2 separate regions of the Homo sapiens genome follow, and region 1 is linked to region 2. Evidence: promoter capture Hi-C in human tissues and cell types (Jung and others, 2019). All regions are on one chromosome and are shown on one strand. Each heading gives the region's core, a stretch centred on a gene start or on the middle of the fragment in contact. The rest is flanking DNA. Distances are from core to core; before and after follow the strand shown. Region 1 overlaps LYN (LYN proto-oncogene, Src family tyrosine kinase). Region 2 holds the start of TCEA1 (transcription elongation factor A1).

Region 1 (3,719 bases), core at 1,022-3,521, 2.0 Mb before region 2:
GCATCCTTAACAGGAGAAATTAAACATGAGGAAAGAAGGTTGTATTAGGTAGGTATGAACTTTGGAGGGCCACAAACTATTGTAATATCTAAGATTTTTATCACCCCTAAGGGATCAATTTTTGCTCCCTTGGGGGCAATCTTACCCCCACTGCAAATGCATGATGCTATGGTCTGAATGTGTCCCTCCAAATTCATGTTGAAACTTAATCTCCAATGCAATCGTATTAAGAGGGGGGGCCTTTAGGAGGTGATTGGGTCATGAGAGATCCTCCCTCATGAATTGGATTAAGGCCCTTATAAAATAGGCTTCACAGAGAGTTTGACCCTTTTTGTGCCCTTCCACCTTCTTCCATGTGAGGACACAGAAAGAAGTACCTCGCCAGGCACTGTATCTACTGGCGCCTTGATCTTGGACTTCCCAGCCTCCAGAGCTTAGAGTTTGAGAAGCAGAGCACTAGATCATAGGCTTGAAAGCTTAAGCTATTTTAGGATTGCAACAAAATCTTAGTCTCAACACGTTGCCTTTGAGCAACCTCACAGGTAGACTGTTACCATCATAATGGTTGGGGAGGAAGTCCAGATGCAACTCAGCTTAACAAAAGAAGGAGTAAGATGTGCAGGGCCAGCATAAGGAGCCCAGGCAGGGAGGAGGAGGCTCCATATGGAGCTGGGGTGAGGGAAAGGGCAGGTGAGGAAGGTTCTCCAAACACCTTGGAAGAATTCCTAGCCCATCAACTGTTTGGAACACATGGCTTGAGCTTGTTTTTCCTGCAACTTAGGTCAGGACCCTGTGGGCCTCATGGCTTGGAGGCAGGGGATACAGGGTCAGGCCTCAGCTCCTCTCCCTCTCTATCACAGCTCTGGGCCCAGAGACATTACTCACAGAGCTTGGGAAACCGATAAAATCTTTTGGTTCTAAACCAAATGAGGAGATTCTCTTCATCTTAGGCCATGTGATTCTCTTCATTATAATGTCAGGCCCAGGGGTGAACAAAGACAAGAAAACCCCAACTTTCTAAACCACCTGCCGACACCAAAGAACTAATTTAAACTGTCTCTTTCACCCAGTGCTGATGTCTAACTCTGTCTCAGAAAGTTGATGTGTGAAGCTACTGGAAATCTGAAATAAAAAGCATCCCTATTACCAAAAATGAGACTAATCACGTAAAGAGACGATGTCAGTGAGGTTTCCATACTCTTGACTTAAGCTGAGATGTGCTGATGCTTCTTGTGCTCTTTGATTCAAATAGCATGGCCAATGCACATTTTTTAGTTTCTTTTTTTGCCTTCAGTGAAAACATATGATGGTATTTTCTACCTGTGCTGTTTCTGTGTTTTTCATTTTCGTTTTTAAAAAGCGGTTTACTGAGCACAGGGACAAGGGAGCATGTGGGGGTGCACCATGACCAAAACTCTGAGTGTGGAGCAAGGTGATTGTTTCCTGAAAACGCCTGTGCCTGAAGCTGATGACAAAGAAGACCATGCTGAGCCCACTGCTGTCCTGGGAGGAGGCACAGAACTACTGGGTCAGAGAGCAAATCCTGGGGGTGGGGGGTTCTGGTGAAACTCTTGGCATCTTGTACACAATGAAAAGTCTAGGTGCACAGAACATATTAATAATAATGCTTCCTGAGTTAATGGGCAGGCTTATCTTGTTTGGCTGGATAGATAGACTTCCAGTCATCTAGAGTGGCCTTTGTAACATACAATGAGAAGAAAAGGAGTTAGTCACCAAGTGTCTGCCTCTTCCTCCACTGCCAGTCAGCTGAACAGATGCCTTCCATAAGTCAGGGCTTTGAGGCAGCTAGAGGCACAAGTGGACCAGAGAAAGAGAGAAGTAAGGTCTTACCCAACGTTCTGACCCCAAAGGGGCAGGACTTTCTCCCCCACTGCTGGTGTGAAACAGGAAGTGTCAACCCTTCAACAAAGATACCCTTGGGGCCACAGCAGGTGAGAAAAGGTGCCACTTCCTCCAGGTGGAGGCAACCCAGCTGTCAGGGCTGGTGGCAGAGTGGGATCAGGGATAGACCTCAGACCCCGAGCAGCATCTCAGAGGCCACTATGGACACAGCTGCTTAAGTTGACGTGGTAGTACTGCCGGCGTGTCTCTATTTGTTGGTATATTCACATCTCTAGTATGATTTCACACACACAGACACCCTTAAATAGGCACACACTTAAGCTGGGCAGAGTGGGGACAGAATACAAAATTTAGAGTCCTATTTACTTTGCAAATAACTTTTTCCCCAGGGTATGAGGTTTAAAACATGTAAAACAAAATTAAAATTCTAAGCCTCTTAACCAACTGGGTAGACCCTCCCCTTGGCCCAGGGGATTTCAAAGAAACCTGAAAAACTAGTTCAGGCCATGATGAGAAGGGGGAATTGGACATGACTCATTATGCCCTTCTCCCTTTTGGAGTGTAGACACCAATGACCAGCATTCACATTAAAATAGAGATCCTGAGACTGATAAACAGACTCTTTGCAGCAATAAGATACCAAATTCCAACCAGACTTTAGTATAACATCACATGACAGATAACAGGTTCTAAAGAAGATCAAAGTATTTTACCTTAAAATATATTTCTCTGACAAATTTTGAAACGGCCCTGCAAAGCCATCTCTTATGGGGGAAATTTATATTCTATAGAGAATCCCATTCCCTTTCCAAGTCTTTTCCTGATCCAGGAGAGATTTAACTGACACCTTTTAAGGTCCCATAAGAGACATTCACATCTGTTCTCTCTGAGGCCTGCTACCTGAAGTCTTCATCTACATGATAAGAACCTTTGCTTCTACAACCACCACTTCCTATACCTTAACTCAAGCTTACTACAACTCTTCAGGCAAAGCTTAACTCCTTCAACCAATGGCCAATCAGGACTTTTTTTTTTTTTTTTTTTTTTTTGGAGGCAGAGTCTCACTCTATCACCCAGGCTGGAGTGCAGTGGCACAGTCTCAGCTCACTGCAACCTCCACCTCCTGGGTTCAAGCGATTCTCCTGCCTCAGTCTCCTGAGTAGCTGGGACTACAGGTGTCCGCCACCATGCCTGGCTAATTTTTATATTTTTAGTAGAGACAGTGTTTTGCCATGTTGGCCAGGCTGGTCTCAAACTCCTGACCTCAGGTGATCCACCCACTTCGGCCTCCTAAAGTACTGGGATTACAGGCATGAGTCACTGTGCCTGGCCAATCAGGAAATTTTTGAATCCACTTATGGCCTGGAAGCCTCCCCTCCCAGCTTCAAGACATCCCGCCTTCCTGGGTTGAACCAATGTACACCTTCTGTGTACTGATTTATGTCTTTGCCTATAACTTCTGTCTCCCTAAAATGTGTAAGATCAAGCTGTATCCCAGCCACCTTGGACACATGTTCCCAGGATCTCTGGTGGCTGTGTCATGAGCCATGGTCCTCAACCTCGGCAAAATAAACCTCTAAATTGATGGAGACCTGTCTCAGATGGTTTTTGGTTTGGTTAAATGAGACCAAAGTTTTAGAAACATTTGAGTGGAATGCACTCATTTAAATTCCCTCTCCTCTAACAATGTTAAAGTAGAAAGTCCAAGTTGCTATTTCCTGAATGGGGAGTGTCCATGTGAGTAGGCTCAGCAAGCCCTATCCAAATGCACCTGCCTGGACCTTCTCGAGGAAAGGCAACCGGGCTCTCCCTCATGAGGCACTGCGGTTTTGTGTCATCAAACACACCCACTGAGA
Region 2 (3,757 bases), core at 813-3,312:
GAGATCACGCCACTGCACTCCAGCCTGGGTGATAGGCCGAGACTCCGTCTAAAAAAAAATAAAAAATAAAATAAAATGAATTAAAATCTAAAAAAATAGTTAAAAATGGTCTTAGACAAGGTAGCATGAAAAAAGAAGAAAAGTAGTTAAATGGATAAATTTTGTGTTATGTGTATTTTAAAGAAAAACATCAACTGATTCTTTGGGAAAAAAGAAAAATGACAGAATTATTACAATAAATGTACAAATCCACATTATAAAGGGAAATTTTTACATACTCATTAATTGAGGCATGAAGCAGACAGCAAACAGGGATGTAAATATTGCAACATTTTCTGTAGAAAACAATTTTTTTCTGTGTGTTCTTTTTTAGAACACATAGATATGCATAAAAATTGACGAGATAGGCCGGGCGCAGTGGCTCACGCCTGTAATCCCAGCACTTTGGAAGGCCGAGGTGGGCGGATCACCTGAGGCCAGGAGTTCGAGATCGGCCTGGCCAACATGGTGAAACTTTGTCTCTACTAAAAACACAAAAAATTAGCCGGGTGTGCTGGTGGGCGCCTGTAGTCCCAGCTACTCAGGAGACTGAGGCAGGAAAATCGCTTGAACCTGGGAGGTGGAGGTTGCAGTGAGCCAGCCGAGATGGCACCACTGCACTCCAGCCTGGTCAATAAGAGCAAAACTCCGTGTCAAAAAAAAAAAAAAATTGACAAAATAAATCTCAACAAATACTACAATTTAAGCTGGAAATCAATAATAAAAAGATAATTTAAAAATGAAACAAAATAGGGAAACGATCCCAATACTTCTCCCCCAAATGAGTGAGTCATAACCAGGAAAAACCTGTCATCTCAGTATAGAAAGAACATTATTAGGCGGTGTATTTTGATGAATGATAGTTACGTGGTGTGGGAGTTATACCTGCAAATAGCATGAGTTGGTCGTGAAGGGTTTAAGTGGGGAAAGACTTTTTGGAGGAGCCTGCATTCTCCACTATGAACCCTGTCACAACTTAAGTCACCTTCCTCTCTGATCCTCAGAAGCTGGTGGGATGCCTTGTGTAATTTCTGACCAGAAGGTTTCCGTCAACTGTTCTTCAACTATTCAAAATGCCATGCCCAAGACTGGTTCTTAGTACTCCAGGAGCTCACGAACGATTTCACCTTTATTTATTTTTTATTTTTTTTGAGACGGAGTTTCGCTCTTGTCGCCCAGGCTAGAATGCAATGGCAGTCTCGGCTCACCGCAACTTCCGCCTCCCGGGTTCAAACGATTCTCCTGCCTCAGCCTCCCGAGTGGCTGGGATCACAGGCCATGACGCCCGGCTAATTTTGTATTTTTAGTAGTGACGATGTTTCTCCATGTTGGTCAGGCTGGTCTCGAACTCCTCACCTCAGTTGATCCGCCCGCCTCGGCCTCCCAAAGTGCTGGGATTACAGGCATGAGCCACCGCGCCCGGCCGATTTTTTTTAAAAAAAGGAACGCTTAGCCGGGTGCAGTGGCTCAGGTCTGTAATCGCAGCACTTTGGGAGGCCGAGGCGGGCGGATCACTAGGTCAAGAGATCAAAACCATCCTGGCCAACATGGTGAAACCCTGTCTCTACTAAAAATACAAAAAATTAGCAGGGCGTGGTGGCGGGCGCCTGTAGTCCCAGCTACTCGGGAAACTAAAGCAGGAGAATCGCTTGAACCCGGGGGGGGGAGCTTGCAGTGAGTGGAGATCGCGCCACTGTACTCCAGCCAGGCGACAGAACGAGGCTCCGTCTCAAAAAAAAAGGAACTCTTAAAACGAGTAACTCCGTAACCTAACTTAGAGGACACGGGTTCCATTTTTCCCCGTAGCAGTCTCCTATGGAGAAAGTGCTTGGCTTCCCACAGACTTTAAAACCTGCCAAAGTTCCATGCTCGGAATCTGCCCCCGTTTCGAGATACTTGGGCCTCCGCGAGTTCTAAAACTCCGGGATGTCCCGATGCAATAGGGGGCCGAAAACCCGCCCCGTGAGGGGGCGGGACCGGAGGTGAACGCGCAGCAAAACCGGGCGCCTTCCACGACCCTCTAGCCGGAAGCCACGCCTGCCCACTAGCCCGACGCCCGCCTGGCGGGAACATGGGCTCGCCCCTCACCAGCGATCTGCAGTCAGTTGGTAGCGCCTGCACGTCGCGCGCGGTGTTCGATTGTCGCTGCCTGGGGAGGAGGAGCCGGAGCCGCCGCCGCCGCCGCCGCCGCCGCGGGCTTCGTTCGTAAGGAAGGGGGCCTAGGCCCGGGCCTGCGGTGGTGGGGGTTGCTGCGCGCCGGGGGTCGCTCCTGCTGTGTCTTCCGCTCCAGCTTCGCCCACTTCCCCTTGCCAGCGGGGTGGGCGCGGAGAAGACCTGCCGGAGCCATGGAGGACGAAGTGGTCCGCTTTGCCAAGAAGATGGACAAGATGGTGCAGAAGAAGAACGCGGTGAGCGCGGCGAGCGGCGCGGGCCGGGAGGGAGGCCGGGCCGCGGTCCGGCCCGAGGGGGCCGCCCCCTCCCTCCTTCTCCCTCCCCTCCCCCTGCAGCCTCCCGTCTGGGAGCCGGGCCCGCCGCGCCCGCGTCCCCGGGGAGGGTGTCCGGGCCCGGGGCGTCGGGTCCCGCGGCAACCTGCGTTAGGACCCGCTCGCTCTTGTATTTCCAGTCCCTGCTCGCTGGTGCCGTGTAATAAACCTAATCGATTTAGGGATTAGGGCACGCTCTCCGTTGACTTTAAACTTTCGTGCTAGTAAAACCTTGGCAATTTAGCTTAGGAATTGAAGCGTAGAAAGTCCTCAGAACTTGAAAGAATGGAGTCTTCCGTGATCCGTGGCCAACATCTAGAAAGAGCATCAAATAGAGGCTTGTGATCGGTATTAGACATCGGGCTGGTAAAATGTAAAACTTCTGTGTCTTATTTTTGAAGAGGGCTGAACGTCCGCCTGGTTATCTCAACTGTGCTACATGTTTGCTTAGCGATTAAAAAGGTAAAGTGTGCCAGTTTCTTGGCGAGTTGCTAAACGTTTTATAAAAAGCGGGTTTTGTCCTGTCGTAATGTACAGAAGAGTTAGGACTACAGCACGCACACTCACCGGAATGCTGGTAGAGGGATTTGGACAAATTATATTGTTGGGTATTTTCTAAGTGGTTTACAGTTAATACTGGTGGCATTTTTTTTGTTATTGATGAATATTCATGTAAGCATATGCTTTTGTGGTTTGTAAGAAATCCTCATACGACCAGTTTCTACAGCTTGCCCATTTGTGTGGCACTTTCAGTCCCTTGCTTCAGACTCATCTGTTCTTAGCTAAACATATTTTTTCGAGACGGAGTTTAACTCTTGTTGCACAAGCTGGAGTGCAATGGCTTGATCTCGGCTCACTGCAACCTCCGCCTCTCGGGTTCAAGTGATTCTCCTGCCTCAGCCTCCCGAGTAGCTGGGATTACAGACGTGCGCCACCACGCCTGGCTATTTTTTTGTATTTTTAGTAGAAACGGGGTTTCACCATCTTAACCAGGCTGGTCTCGAACTCCTGACCTCAGGTGATCCGCCCACCTCAGCCTCCCAAAGTGCTGGGATTACAGGCGTGAGGCCACTGCGCCTGGCCTCTCAGGTAAACTTATATAATTGTCCTCACCTAAATTTGTTTAACCACGTTCGGCACATTTTCATCATCAGTGTACCTGAAATAATTTTTCTTCCATCTATGAAGTAAATTCCATGTCAAACTAATGTGAAGAGAAAAGGGATGCTCTGATT

Evidence for each region. Contacts are between HindIII fragments. The study calls those that stand out against the background at their distance.
Region 1: a fragment that was not itself captured here is called in contact with the fragment with the promoter of TCEA1 in region 2 in 1 of the 25 tissues and cell types used here (aorta).

What each region holds. Positions count from the first base shown.
Region 1 is chr8:55,989,433-55,993,151 of GRCh38, reverse strand. All of the region lies in intron 10 of LYN (LYN proto-oncogene, Src family tyrosine kinase), which reads right to left. Among named protein-coding and RNA genes, the nearest start is that of SNORD54, 83 kb to the left of the region's middle. RefSeq lists enhancers at 682-841, 1,332-1,431, 1,742-1,801, 2,272-2,361. The HindIII fragment of the contact is 4,763 bases long and covers 1-3,719 here.
Region 2 is chr8:54,020,753-54,024,509 of GRCh38, reverse strand. It overlaps TCEA1 (transcription elongation factor A1), which reads left to right and starts at 2,062. Exons shown (of 10, transcript NM_006756.4): 1 at 2,062-2,447. The coding sequence starts at 2,385. All of the region lies in intron 12 of LYPLA1-TCEA1 (LYPLA1-TCEA1 readthrough), which reads left to right. LOC133039971 (Uncharacterized LOC133039971) reads right to left here and starts at 2,477. Exons shown (of 3, transcript NR_189620.1): 1 at 2,128-2,477. RefSeq lists silencers at 1,009-1,316, 2,444-2,613 and enhancers at 738-1,529, 2,124-2,273, 1,530-2,323. The HindIII fragment of the contact is 39,045 bases long and covers 1-3,757 here.